2 separate regions of the Homo sapiens genome follow, and region 1 is linked to region 2. The links are contacts of gene promoters, found by promoter capture Hi-C in blood cells and fetal thymus (Javierre and others, 2016). All regions are on one chromosome and are shown on one strand. Each heading gives the region's core, a stretch centred on a gene start or on the middle of the fragment in contact. The rest is flanking DNA. Distances are from core to core; before and after follow the strand shown.

Region 1 (7,333 bases), core at 3,894-6,393, 1.1 Mb after region 2:
CTCACTTTCCAGACTGGGTAGCCAGGCAGAGGGGCTCCTCACGTCCCAGACGATGGGCGTCCAGGCAGAGACGCTCCTCACTTCCCAGACGGGGTGGCGGCCGGGCAGAGGCTGCAATCTCGGCACTTTGGGAGGCCAAGGCAGGCGGCTGGGAGGTGGAGGTTGTAGCGAGCCGAGATCATGCCACTGCACTCCAGCCTGGGCACCATTGAGCACTGAGTGAACCAGACTCCGTCTGCAATCCCAGCACCTCGGGAGGCCGAGGCTGGCGGATCACTCGCGGTTAGGAGCTGGAGACCAGCCCGGCCAACACAGCGAAACCCCGTCTCCACCAAAAAAATACGAAAACCAGTCAGGCGTGGTGGCGCGCGCCTGCAATCGCAGGCACTCGGCAGGCTGAGGCAGGAGAATCAGGCAGGGAGGCTGCAGTGCGCCGAGATGGCAGCAGTACAGTCCAGCTTTGGCTCGGCATCAGTGGGAGACGGTGGAAAGAGAGGGAGAGGGAGACCGTGGGGAGAGGGAGAGGGAGAGGAGGGAGAGGGAGAGAGAGAGGGGGGAGAGGGAGAGGGAGAGGGGGGAGAGGGAGAGGGAGAGGGGGGAGAGGGAGAGGGAGAGGGAGAGCCAGAGCTGCTTTTTTAAAAATTTTTTTTTATTTTTTATTTTTTCTGAGACGGAGTCTCACTCTGTCACCAGGCTGGAGTGCAGTGGCGCAATCTCGGCTCACTGCAACCTCCGCCTCCTAGATTCAAGTGATTCCCCTGCCTCAGCCTCCCGAGTAGCTGGGACTACAGGTGCGCACCACCACACCTGGCTAATTTTTGTATTTTTAGTAGAGACGGGGTTTCACCATGTTGGCCAGGCTGGTCTCAAACTCCCGGCCCCAAGCAATCCACGCGCCTCGGCCTCCCAAAGTGCTGGGATTACAGGCGTGAGCTAGTGTGCCCGGCCTCAAGAAAATATTTTAATGTAAAATTTCCATTGAAATATTCCCACATATAGGAAGGCAGTGGTCTGCTCTTTTCTGTATGAATGTTATATACCATTATTTTTAATAGTTGCATAGTACTGTACTATGTAGATTTCCAATAGTTAATGGCCTTTTTTGTTTGCTAATTTTTGCAATTACACATACACAATTATGCACATTCACAAACAATTGCAATGTGTGTAGTGAACATCTTTGAACATATATCTTTGAACATTTGTGCGAGTATTTCTAGATAGAAGTAGGATTGTTGGGTCAGTGGTTGTGTAATGCAAAAATGTTAAAAGATACCGCCAAATAGCCCTGCTGAAAGATTTTTACCAGTTTACTCCTCTACCAATGGTATTCGAGAAGCTACAACCCTTTGAGGCAAGATCTCCTTAAGAAGTTGGAGACTCTGCTATGCATAGTTGAGAATTTGACTCTGCACTGTTTTGTATTTATCTTTAATGACTTCATAGGTGCTAGTCTTTTTGCCCCTAGAATATTTTAAGTTCCTTGGAGGCTGGGATCATGTCATATACTTCCTTGGTATTTCCCATATTGCCTAGTACAGGCTGAGCAAACTATGGCTGTTGCTTAATACATACTTCATGATTGATTGATAAACTGGTTCTATTTTTGGGCTGCACAGTGATTGAGGTGAGCTCTTGGAATGAGAGAGCTGGGCAGAGTCAGAGACTAGGGCTGTGCCGGGTCAGTATCAGATGCTGTCACTTGCACATCAAGTTTAGACCGTAATCTGAGAATCTAAATGTATAAAGCACCTACTACAATCCCTGGCTCAGAGGAGGTCCCCAATAAATGATTTCTATTGCTGTTATGATTCTCTTTTAATGAGAGGATTGTCTTAGGGCTACTGTTGAGGGTTCAAGCATAGGACCTAAAGCCATCCCAGGCAGAGTCAGAAATCCACAGTCCAGAGATGAAGTCAAATTGGGAACCAGTGGGAGCAGCCAGGCATCTGAGGCAGAAACAGAGACCTGCGTTTGGGCAGTTCACTTGCATTGTGATGAACACTTTCCTGGCCATCCCAGGCTGTTTTTTGGGGGGCTTTCTGCATGTTTGGCTTTCATGCAAAAGTATCTTTTTTGTTTGTTTTTGAGACGGAGTCTTGCTCTGTCGCCCAGGCTGGAGTGCAGTGGCGCAATCTCAGCCCACTGCAACCTTTGTCTCCCGGGTGGAAGCGATTGTTGTGCCTCAGCCTCCCAAGTAGCTGGGATTATAGGCACCTGCCACCAAGCCCAGCCAATTTTTGTGTTTTTATTAGAGTCGGGGTTTCGCCGTGTTGGTCAGGCTGGTCTTGAACTGCTGACCTCAGGTGATCCACCCGCCTCAGCCCCCCAAAGTTCTGGGATTACAAGCGTGAGCCACCGCGCCTGGCCATGCGAGGACATCTTTAAGGTGCTGCTTAGTTCCCAAGAGAAGCCAACAATCTCAGCACAGGGCTGTGAACATAGGAGGTGCTCAGTGAAAGCAATCCCATTTACCTTTTGCCTGTTGAAACAGATAATGTGGCAGGAATGTCAATGATTTACTTGAGAAGAGGAGGCTAAGGATCAGCCATTCTACTAGAACAAGATTACTATCCAGGCTTTCCCCAGTCCCAGGTGGGGTAGGGGGCTGGGAAACCCAGTCAGATAAGGATTCAATTCAGTGATGAATTTAGAGGTTATGAAAACGTGGTGGTACATGGATGACAAGGACTCTATACAGTGAAGAATGGGTCTCATTTTTTCTACCTCTCTACCCCAGTCAGCAGGATGGCTAAGGGAGGGAGATGGGAGGGGGCAGTAATGGAGATGTCATTATAACATACAGCATTGACTGTGTCTCTCTTCCATGCCAGACAGTTAGCACACAATTCCCTTTATAACTCCATGATATAGGTATTAGCTTTATTTTACAGATGAAGAAATAGTCTCAGAAAGGATAAATTACTTGCCACAGGTTATACAAGCTATTACGTAGCAGAGCCAGGATTTGAACCGAGGCCTGTCTGGCCATAAGGCTTATGTGCTTTCTGAGCTACCTACCATCCTGGATCTTCTATGTCAGTGATAGCAGCCCAGGCCTCAGAGAAACAGATGTTGCTTAAGAATACTAGCTCATCATGCGTGGGTAGGGCATTCCGTGGTTCATTCTTTTGTTCATCAATTCGTTCTACACACACATGCATTTATAGCCAGAAAGCAGAAAGAGATGTGCAAGTCAGAGAGGTGGGGTGGAAAGGGCTGTGTGTGTGGGGAGGAGGGCAAAGTGACATGACAAGTTTGAGGCTACAGAAAATAGAGAATAAAGGAGCTATCATGAGCTCAAAAGCAGGATGGGGGCTGATGCTTTATGTCTGCTCCTGGATGTAGTACTGAATGGGTCTCCGGGTGGTTACAGAAGAGTCTTTGAAGCAACACTAACAGGAAAGCTTCAACCCAGTGGTGGCACTCAGGATCAAACAGCACATTACACCTACACCTACACACGCCTACACACACACACACACACACACAAACACACACACATGAAGAATAAATGTGGAGACAGGTATTTTTAAACAAATACTCCAGAACATACATGATAACACAAGGAGCTGTCTTATAAACTGGAAGGCTATACCTTGATTTTTGTGGTGTTTCTAGTGCTCATCACATGACTATAACCCCTTTTCTTCTCTCTCTTTCTTTCTTTCTTTCTTTCTCTCCCTCTCTCTCTCTCTCTCTCTCTCTTAGATGGAATCTCGCTCTGTCGTCCAGGCTGGAGTGCAGTGGAGCGATCTGGGCTCATTGCAACCTCCGCCTCCCAGATTCAAGTGATTCTCATGCTCAGCCTCCTGAGTAGCTGGGATTACAGGCACCTGCCACCATGCCTGGCTAGAGATAGGGTTTCACCATGTTGGCCAGGCTGGTCTCAAACTCCTGTCCTCAAGTGATCTGCCTGCCTTGGCCTCCCATAGTGCTGGGATTACAGACGTGAGCCACTGTGCCCGGCCTATAACCTCTTTTCAAAAGAGCCAACACTGACTTGGATGTAAAAAGTGGGAAGTCTGTTGAAAAGAGAAGAGAAAAGAATAGGAAAAAACAGTCTCAGTTTATAGTCACAATTTAGTTGTGTGTGTGTATTAAGACTTTAAGGATTATATAAAATGATGTAACTACATAGGAGGAAGTACTATGGGATGTTTGTCCACATAAATTTTCCTTATTTTTCTTTGAGTGTTGAGAATAAATAATAACAGATTGTAATAAAACAAGCCTGACTCACATAGCCACTTAGTCCGAGAGGGAATGTGACCCAGAGCAGGGAGGGACAGAGCTCAGGAATGTGTCACCATGACACATCGATTCCAGGACTCCTCAGGCTTCACCTGCACCTGAGCTATGGACAAAATATGTTTGAGTGCTACAGAGGCTTATTTTTCACTGCTCCATAGTCAGAAGGATGGCAGCTGGGGTGACCATACTATTCCTAAGGGCATCTGATATACATAGGCTTGGAAATCCACAGGGCTGATGAGGTTTAGGGAAGTTCTTCTCCCTCCCATACCAAGTGTGTGCAATACCAGCACCCTCCAGAATTCAAAGCGGGAGAATTGGAGGCAATGATACTGATCGTACACTTCATGAGGAATAAACTGTTGATCATAATCAGCATGAGTGCTAAGGAACAATGGAAGCTTTATAAAGACAAACCTTCCTTTGCAAGTTAATTACAACACATCTCAGAATTACCTAGTGTTTTTTAAATCCTTTAAGAATTTTGAAGGGTGCCATGAAAGTGTCAAATGTAATTATTATGTAGCTTTTTGTTTCATATTGTGTGGGACACATATACTGTAAAGGAAAAATAGTTCTTGACCATGTATGTGGTCCTTCAACTAACATACAACTGCCTTAGGAAGAGCTTTGGCAGTCTCTTCTGTACTAATTCCAAATACCAAATCTCTAAAACTTTGAAATTTTTATCACGCTTAGGAAAACCTAGGCTGGTAATGTAGGCATTCTCCTCCAATCTTCAACCTTTTCTCTTATCTCCTCTTACACTTGGAAAGGAGATGCCACCTTCAACCTTTTCTCATATTTCCTCTTATATTTGGAAGGCAGGAGCCATACTGGTGAAAACAGACCTAGTGTCTTTTAAAGTCACCCTATAGTATAATACTGTGGTTCTCAATTGTTTCCCCCCTTCAATCTCAAACTTTTTTTTTTTTTTTTTTAAGACAGGGTCTCTCTCTGTCGCCCAGGCTGGAGTGCAGTGGCATGATCTTGGCTCACTGCAACCTTCACCTCCTGGGTTCAAGTGATCCTCCTGCCTCAGCCTCCCTGGTAGCTGGGACTACAGGCGAGTCCCACCGCTCCCCGCTAACTTTTGTCTTTCTAGTAGAGACGGGTTTTGCCATGTTGGCCAGGCTGGTCTTGAACTCCTGACCTCAGGTGATCCACCTGCCTCGGCCTCCCAAAGTGCTGGGATTACAGGCGTGAGCCACCGCGCCCAGCCCAATCTCAAACTTTTAATGCATGCAACTCACTCGGATCAGTAGCAGTGGCTCATGGTGGCAGTAATGCAGAGCTGGGTGGCAGAAGGAAAAAATCAATCTGGTTGGTGGGTGGGAATTCTGCCTTGGATTCTCCCCTTAATCATCATAAGCTTTCCAAACCGAATAAAAATTTACAACCTTTTTGGCAATCTTTACTTCATTACCTACCTGGAAGAATTTATGTCCTCAGTGGAGTTTCTTTAACTCCATTAATGTCAATTAGTTGTTTTAGGTGCTGCAAAATGATAATACGTTCTTGGGGACATTTATCCTTTACAACATGCTTTTTATGCTTGTTTGTGTGTTTTGATTTGAAAGACTTAGAGATGCAGGCTAGGGTGACTGGGACAGATATGGGGTCCCTGGCTACTGAATGAGACTTGGGAGGCAGATGACTTGTTTTTATGCCGATAAAGAGTAAAATCTCAAGTTGCGGTTGATTTTAAAATGCAAGCAGGGCTGGAGAGGCCCATGGCAGACCTAGTTTGGGGTGAGCACCCGGATCTGTGAGCTAGTGTTGCTTCAGCATCTCACTGTGTGTGTGTGTGCGCGCGCGTGTGTGTGTGTGCGCGCGCGCGCGCGTGTGTGTAGGCTGGTTCCACCCTTTGCTGTCCCATCGGCACTACCCTTAACCTCCGTCTCTGCGTAACTATATTAATAGAAGGCAACACTTCACATACTGGCGCTCAGACCCCAAAGAGAGGCTGGCAGTGGCTTGGCAGGTGGGCATGCAGCAGGGAGATGGGTGGAGGAGTGGGCGGAGGCATCGTCGAGTGGCGTTAGGCAAAACCAATGGCAGTTCGGGATAGGGGCGGCCGGGGCGGAGGCGCCGAGGCCGATCGGCCAATAGAGGGCGAGCAACTACTGGAGCGACCTGGTGACGTGAGGAGCGTTCCATTTGGCCAGTGGTGGGCGGTTGCCACAGCTGGTTTAGGGCCCCGACCACTGGGGCCCCTTGTCAGGAGGAGACAGCCTCCCGGCCCGGGGAGGACAAGTCGCTGCCACCTTTGGCTGCCGACGTGATTCCCTGGGACGGTCCGTTTCCTGCCGTCAGCTGCCGGCCGAGTTGGGTCTCCGTGGTTCAGGTAACGAGGGGTGGGGGCGGGGGTCTCCTGGGCTCGGCTGCAGGGTGGGCTGCCTCCCCTTCCGCGGCGCCTGGAGGCGGGGACGTCGGCACCGCCCTTCTCAACTCGGCAGCCGCCGAGCCCCTGGCCCGGGGTGACTACACGTGGCGGGGCGTGTGTGAGTGTGTACGAGCGTGTGGCTGCGTGTGCGTGTGGATGTGGCGCGCGTCCCAACCTGCCTGGGGCGGTGGTCCGCGGCGTGGCGGAGTCAGGGCGGGCCTCGAGAGGCCGCGCCCGCGGCTCGGCCCCGGACTCCGGCCTCCGGCCTCCGGCCCCCCGCTGGGGAGCCGGTCGCTGCTTCCCGACGGATTTTGATCTTTGTTCTTCCAGGCCGGCTCCCCCTTCCTGGTCTCCCTTCTCCCGCTGGGCCGGTTTATCGGGAGGAGATTGTCTTCCAGGTTAGTTTTACACAAAGGACGGGTTCTCTGCACCTCTGGGCCCCCCTCCCCTTCCCCGAACCTTCTACCTTCTCGTTTCCCTGCTCCGCTCCTAGGCTGTTTTTGGACCTTTGCCCTCTCCAGCCCGCGAGTTGGCTGTTTCTCCCTCCGTCCGTCGGGCTGCAGGCTTCCGCCTCAGTCCTGCCAGCGTGGGGCATGTGGTGTCGGTAAATAGAGGCCACAACACCACACCTGAGCGGAGGAGAAGGGTAGCAGAGGCTGAGAAACTCTGGGCCTGGGAATTCAGGATGCTGAG
Region 2 (7,333 bases), core at 225-2,724:
TCATGCCTTTATGCCTTTGCATATGCTTTGTATAGAATATGGTTGACCTCCCTGCCCCAAATCTGACAAATATTTTACTGGTTCTTCAACCAGTTCTCCAGAAGTAGAACAAGTTCTTCCTCCTCTATGTTCCTATAGAACCCTATGTAGACTTCTTTACAGCATTTTGCACATTGTATACTCATCTATTCCTCCCCCCAGATTCTCCTCTACTACAACTCCCCTCACCTGGATTTTGAGCTACTTGAGGGTAGGGACTATTTTTCCAATTCTGTGGCAACAGTGCCTAGCCCAGAGCTTTGCACAAAGCACTATGCTGAATAAATGGTTGAATTTATTAAATCGTCTTCCTCCTTCACTTATCTTTTTAAAATATTGGGCAATTACCTCAGCAAAATGCAATTCCCCTGTCTTTCCCTTCATTTTACTCGTGAGTCGAAAAGTTGTCCTCATCAAGAAGTTGTAGTAATTCAACTGTAACAAGGCTACAAGGATTCATCTCTAACAGAGAAAAAAAAAGGTCAAAAGTTGGGAGTGAAATTAGCCCTAATAAACAACCATTTTCCTCAACCTTTAAGTCACTTGGAAGTGCTTGGCATTCCCCACCTATGTCTTTATCCAGCTCTTGTAACATATTTTTACTCAAAAGGTTAAGTTTCTTAAAGACACATATAGTTACTCGTTTGTACTTAAGTTGTATTGTCTATCTGTTCTAAATTGTTATTTATAGCAGTTTATGTGGCCACTGTTTTTCATGGCAACAACATAGCTTCATTATGGATTAAATAGGCTTCTTCTGGGCTGGTGTAGATCACATTTCTATGCCTATTTATGACACTGTTTCCAGGGGGAACTATAATTTCCAATTAGAAAAAAATATATACATTCTTCCATACCTTTCAAGTGATTTTAATGCAGGTGGTTCACAAGGAACACACTTTAACAATTTTAAAGGACTATAACTCTCAATTAAAATTCTAAGCTTACCAAAGAATAAACATCATCTTTTGAAAAACACTTAAAACTCAATAACAATTTCAAATCACGATAGAAAGTGCTTCCCGCAAAATGCTAAGAGCTTAACCGACATGAAAATAAATCTAGAGCCTTCGTCTGTCCCCACAAGCACAAACCCATAACCCCAAGAGAGATTCTCTAGACAGTGCACCCAAACTACAATACCCAGAATACCCTTCCCCGTCTGAACGCTGGGGACAATCGGAAGGGGAGGGGAAGAATTGTGCGTATAGAGAAATAAGTGTCCCGCAACTCCATCTCCCATAATTCTCGGTCCTCACTTGTGTCTGTCTGCCAATGTCAACACGAGTTACCCCCAGGAAGAACAGCCTCCAGCGACCTCAAACTACATTTCCCATGAAGCCATGGGCTCGGGCCTCCGGCTTCCCCGGTGACCAGTAGCCAATAGGAGACGCCGCAGTGGGCACCCTGTGTGTGAGAGTCCAGCCTTGGGCCAGAGTGCCGGGTCTAGGCCTGGAAGCGCGAGGCGGGCATTTCGGAAGAGAGTGGCGCGGCGTGGGGCGCCGCGAGGGCACTACGAGCCCAGGAACTGCCGCGCCGGCCCGATTTTCCGCGGCTGTATAAGGACTAGCGCTTCGGTAGCCGGGGAGCTGGAGGTCAGAGAGGCAGAAAGCCCCGGTGGCCGTGGCTGGGGACTGTGGGACTGAGGGGGCCTAGGGAGGAGGGTGCTTCCGGGGCCGCGGTCCTCAGCGCCTAACTCCACCCAGCTCCACCTCTGCAGGGGAGGGGGTATCGGGACTGGGAGTCGGGGGTGGGCTTTTGAGCTCTAGGCGCCAGTTCTCTTGAGCCCGGGAGCGCGCTGTCTTTGCTCTTTTTTTTTTTTTTTTTTGGTCCAACTCGCCCGCCCCTTTTTTTTTTTCCCACGACGCCGCCCCCCTCCCCCTGGCTCTGTGCCTCCTCAGAGGTCCGAAGTTGGGGTTTGCGTCCAGGGTTTTGCCTAGGCGGTGACTGGACTCTAATTCTTACCGCAGGAATTGGGTGATCTCTTTCCTCTTTTCCCTCAATTTGTATTTCAGGTTTGGGCACATAACCCTCCCTGCGCTACACTCCCCATTTTCTTTGGGGCATGGGAATTCCTTGCCACGCTCAGGGCGTGACTTTTTTTTTTCAAACTTTCTCTTTTTGCCTCCTTAATTGATCGCCATCTCTTTACTGGCCCCTCAGCCACCTGCCACTTCCCCCACCAGGTCTTTGAAGTGGGGAGAGTTTCCCCTCAATTTCTAGAAGGGATGGGAAGCAAAAGAGGGAAGGAATCTTGCTTTTGAGAAATGTGTGTTTAAGGTTCAGTGCAGGGTTCTGGTGAGAGTAAAAGGCAAGTTAGACTGGTTATAAAAATCCAGCGCTTTAGGGGTTTCCAGCAAAGACTGATAGCACTAATGTTGACAAACATTTAGGGGGCACACCTTTATTCTACAGAATAAAGTAGACCGTGTGAAACAGACCATATTAATCATTGTATTATTACAAACGTGTGCAAAAAACGCTAAGAGGGGTCAGTGGAAGAGCATACTGATGGGGGTGGTGAGTTCATCTATGGAAGTTCAAGCCTAACCCGGGAAGTGCTGAAGCCCTCATCCGGCTTTCAGGCTTTGTGAAGGAGGTGAATTTTAATCTGGGCTCCAGCAGAGTACAGGGGATTTGAAGTTGTCAAAGAGGAGGGAGAAAATGCTTCCTGCTACTGAGATTGGACTTTGAGAAGGGTAAACAGAAGAGGGAGCACTGTGAGACAGGTGGGCTTGCCTGATTGGAATAAAAGATATCAGCACAAATATACTGGGAAATAAATAGGGTGGAGAAGCTTGGGGTCATAATAACATGATACTTTGAAACATACACATAGTTTGGATATTATTCTGTATCAAATAAAATTGAAGGCAAAAATTAAGATTGGATGATTTTTCTTTTCATCCTAGGGAACCTGATTTGAGATCAATTCTTGGAGAACACAAAGAAGTGTGATGGTATGTTCCAGGTGTGAGTTTAAATCCAAGAAGAAGCTTGTCTTGCAGATGTTTTGTTTGTAGCTATTCTTAGCTACAGTCTATAGCTGTCAACTTTAAAGCCTAGAGACATCGATATATTTTCTTAAGAAATGCATTTGCTGTCCCCGTGCATCACATTATCTGAACTGTAGTCATCTCATTGGGTGACAATAATGACTGCTATTTATTGAACCCACATAATGTCCTAGTCATCATCATAAATACTTTGTTGCATTATCTTGAGTGTTATGAAGTAGGTACTATTATTCCTGTTTCTTTTTCTAGAAGAAAACACTAAAATGCACAGAAGTTAAACAATCTACTTAAAGTCACATAGATTATAAGTTGAGTTGAGGTTTGGGTGTACAGATTTCTGACTCCAAAGCCCATGCTCTGTTCAACATGGTTTGCTGCTCCCAATGTTCTTTCTTGTTCTTGACTTTCCAGTTGTGGTAAGGAGAGATAGGTATAGTTCATCATCCTGGCCAAAACCCAAATGATTCACTTAAAATTTCTATGTCAGAATGTATTTGCTGTAAAGTAGCTGCCAAAACCAAATTAACTGTCATTGCAACTGTAGCTAATTGTGTCTGCCAAAACCATAGTCAGTACGGCTATTTCTGAATTAGATGATTCTCTTTATAACACATATCATACCTCTAAGCTATTTGGACCTTGATAGCACTTTGGATGTATTTTATTTTAGCATTTTAAGAAGTTACCTGGGACACTAGATCTCTTTCATGACCTCTGCCCACGTGAAGTGTTGGAGAAACAATGAAGTACAAGGTGTGAACTCTTCCTGGGGTCTAGCTGGGGAGCTGGATGCCCACAGTTCTGAGATACTGTAGTGTGTAGTATAACAGAGACAGGTACAAAATGCTATGGAGGGATAAAGGAAGGTGTGACTCACTGTAAGGGAGACTCGGGGAGAAGGCTTCCATGAGGAGGTGACATGAGATAGGTCTTGAAGGATAGTGAGTTTGCCCCAGGCAGGGAAGGAGTGGAGGGGAGGCATTTCAGATAGAGGAGTCAGTCTGTGAAAGATGTGTGGCTGTATAAGAGTAGGGCATGTTCATTCAATGTGGAAGAATTCAGCATGGTTGGAGTGCAGATAGTTGAGTAAAAGGAAACTGTAATGGGTAGGAGAAGAGTCTGGAAAGAGGTTGGGGCTGATTTGCAAAGAACCTTGATTGCAATCCTAAGTTGGAATGTGCCCCCATAGGTCAGTGGTTCTCAAAACGTAGGGCATCTGCCAGTGGTAGTTACACTGTGCTCCCACAAACATTTTAATTTTACTAGTTACATGTTCAAATATGTCTTAAAAAACATAAAACTGAACTAAGCCATCACATCTAAGATTACTTTGGATTTTACTTCATAAAAATAGAAAGTGAACCAGTTTTCAGTTCATTTAAAGACAAATATTAAGTAGTAATAGTACACATTGTGTGTGAATATGGTAAAAATCACTAAGTAATACTCAGACTGAAATTTGGGAAGTGCTGCTTGTAGGCCATAAGAAACCATTAACATGTTTTAGAAGAGCACCACGATCAGATTTTTACTGTAAGGAAAATGACAGTGGGAAGGATACAGTGGAGGTGGATATGATGAGGCTGCTACTCTGTTCCACAGAGAGACAATAAAGACCCAAGAGTAGTGACGTGAGCGGAGCGAAGAGATTTGAGAAACATTTAGGAGGTAAAATTATTAGGACTTGGTGGATGTTAATATTATTTTGTCAGTGTTACCAGAATTGTTTTAAAAGTCTGCATGCCCCCCTTGCCTCTTGTCCTTTATATTGTATGGTGAGCAATAATATTGCCAAAACATGCTATGTTTCTATGTTCATTAAGATTACAATGGAAGCTATAGTTACCACTCGAGTGGATTTGGATTACACACAAACATCCTTCCCACCTTACTCAGTGTCCTTGAGAGCAGTAGCACAAATATTCAAGGCACTGATTAGGAATATGACCATGATCTGTGACCCTTAGGCATGCAAGAAATTCCTCAGCCTTTAAGACTCAGCTCATATGTCAACACCTCTGTGAAGCCTTCCCGACAGCCCTTGCCCAACATACATGAATGCACGCACAAGGCAATGTTAGGCCTCGGGCTTCCACAGGACCCTGCACTTAGTTACCTCCGTCCTAGCCTGTACCACACTGTAGGGTGTCGGTCTGTGGATGTCTCTGTGTTCCCCACTAGACTGTGAACTCCTTGAGGGCAGGGACCAGGTTTCATTCATCTCCATACCCATAGCATCCAGAAGAGCACTTGACACATGGTAGTCACCTAATAAATGGTTATTGGGTGAAAAGAATTGATAAACAGATTTGCATGAATATAACTGGGGACCTTGGTAGCACAGAGTGCCAAATGCTATGAAAAGACTAGCTGTTTGCTACATTTGCTACTTTTGCTGAAGAAAGGAGTAAATTAAAGTGCCCATAATTTCATGAAAGACCTACTTTTTCCCTCTTTTCTTCACTCTCCCCTGGTTATCTTACCTTTTTCTTTCCTATCATTTACCTATCCAGGCACCTATTCCTTAGCCCTGCCCATTACTTTGCTGCTCTTGACAGAGTTCATCTTCCTCCTGCCCTGATACTTTGCCAGGAAACATCCTTCCTTCTACCCACCCAAGTCCAGTACACTCCGTCCTTGACATCACTCTCAAGTTCATCTCCTACTCATAGACTCTGCTGCTGGGACTATAATTTGATACAGCTCTTCTGGAGAGCAATTCGTCAATATGTATCAGAAACCTTAATAGAATACAGCTTTTAACCTACCACTTCAACTTCTAGAGCTCTATGCTGAGGAAACAATCATGATGTTTCCAAAAATTTAATACTCAGGACATCTATCCCAGAGTTGTTTATACTAATAGCAAAAACAACAAAAAAAAAAAAAAGAAAAAAAAGAACATCTTAAATGTACAATACTAGGGATTTGAATGAAATCAATTGTGGTACATTTATAGAATGGATTACTAAGTAGCCTTGTAAGTTGATTTTACCAAACAATATTTAATGATGTGGAAAATTGTTTTTGATATATTAAGAGAAAATTCACATCATAGAACTCTCAGTACAGAGTGACAGATCCCAGTTTAAAAACATATACATAATACACACACACACACGCACACACACACGCACACGCACACACACATCTGTGTAGGCATACATAGGAAAAATCCTGTAATGGTAAACACACAAAAAAATATTAATAGGGGTTTGCTGCAAGTAGTAAGATTGCATATGACTTCTACTTTTAACCTTTTGCGTATTTTTATTTTCTAATCTACAGTATATTTGTTAATTTTTAAAAAGTTATTTTGACCAGGCACAGTGGCTTAACACCTGTAATCCCAGCACTTTGGGAGGCCAAGGCAGGCGGATCACCTGAGGTCAGGAGTTTGAGACCAGGCTGGCCACCATGGGGAAACCCCGTCTCTACTAAAAATACAAAAATTAGCCGGGCGTGATGGCATGCGCCTGTAATCCCAGCTACTCGGGAGGCTGAGGCAGGAGAATTGCTTCAACCCAGGAGGCGGAGGTTGCAGTGAGCCAAGATTGCACCACTACACTCCAGCCTGGGAGACAGAGTGAGACTCTGTCTCAAAAAAAAAAAAAGTTATTTTAAAATGTTTTCCCGGTGTCCACCATTGTCTTACTTTGGGGCATACCTTCCACCCCCCAACACACATGCATCACTTCTAGCCTGGATTACTGCTGCTTCCAGCCTGCTTCCCTTCTAGTCTACTCTTTACCAATGCTGACAGAATGATTTTTGTAAATCACAAATCTAAAACCATCTGGTCTCTATATAAAATAGTTCAAAGGCTGTCCATTGTCTTCAGAGTAATATCCAGACTTCTTAGACTGCCTGATAAAAGCTTTGAAAATCAGCTCCCTGCTTGCTCCTCTAGTATTAGGTTTTCCTTCTGTGATTTACTTTTTTGGGGGGTCTTTGGCCAGTGGCAGGCACATAATAGGTATTTAATTAATGTTAGCCAATGTTGATGTGGACTGTATGGATTAGCTATTTTATGCCAGGCAATCTACTGGTATTTAATTCTCAGAGCAAAAATATTAAACACATAAAATAGTTATTCCTATTTTACAGATGAGGAAAACTAAATACATCAAAGCGAGAAGAAAAGTTATCATAATAAAGGGCATTTTTTAAAGAGAAAATTTAAAACCTCCTGCCATAACTCTGTTTTCTTTATTTTCCAGCAATCCCTGCTGGTCCTTGTCAGGAAGAAAACAGGCTTTGTACACTCCCTTGGGCAA

What was found. The method cuts DNA at HindIII sites, captures the fragments that hold promoters and counts their contacts. A CHiCAGO score of 5 or more calls a contact.
Region 1: a contact is called between a fragment that was not itself captured here and the fragment with the promoter of ENOX2 in region 2, in 1 of 17 cell types (total CD8 T cells). The highest score is 5.8, in total CD8 T cells.

Annotation. Positions count from the first base shown.
Region 1 is chrX:129,842,964-129,850,296 of GRCh38, reverse strand. ZDHHC9 (zDHHC palmitoyltransferase 9) reads left to right here and starts at 6,411. Exons shown (of 11, transcript NM_016032.4): 1 at 6,411-6,601; 2 at 6,971-7,038. RefSeq lists an enhancer at 1-790. The HindIII fragment of the contact is 971 bases long and covers 4,658-5,628 here.
Region 2 is chrX:130,897,350-130,904,682 of GRCh38, reverse strand. ENOX2 (ecto-NOX disulfide-thiol exchanger 2) reads left to right here and starts at 1,474. Exons shown (of 15, transcript NM_006375.4): 1 at 1,474-1,634; 2 at 2,952-2,999. RefSeq lists enhancers at 1,259-1,448, 1,069-1,588, 1,459-1,728, 1,589-2,108. The HindIII fragment of the contact is 1,854 bases long and covers 985-2,838 here.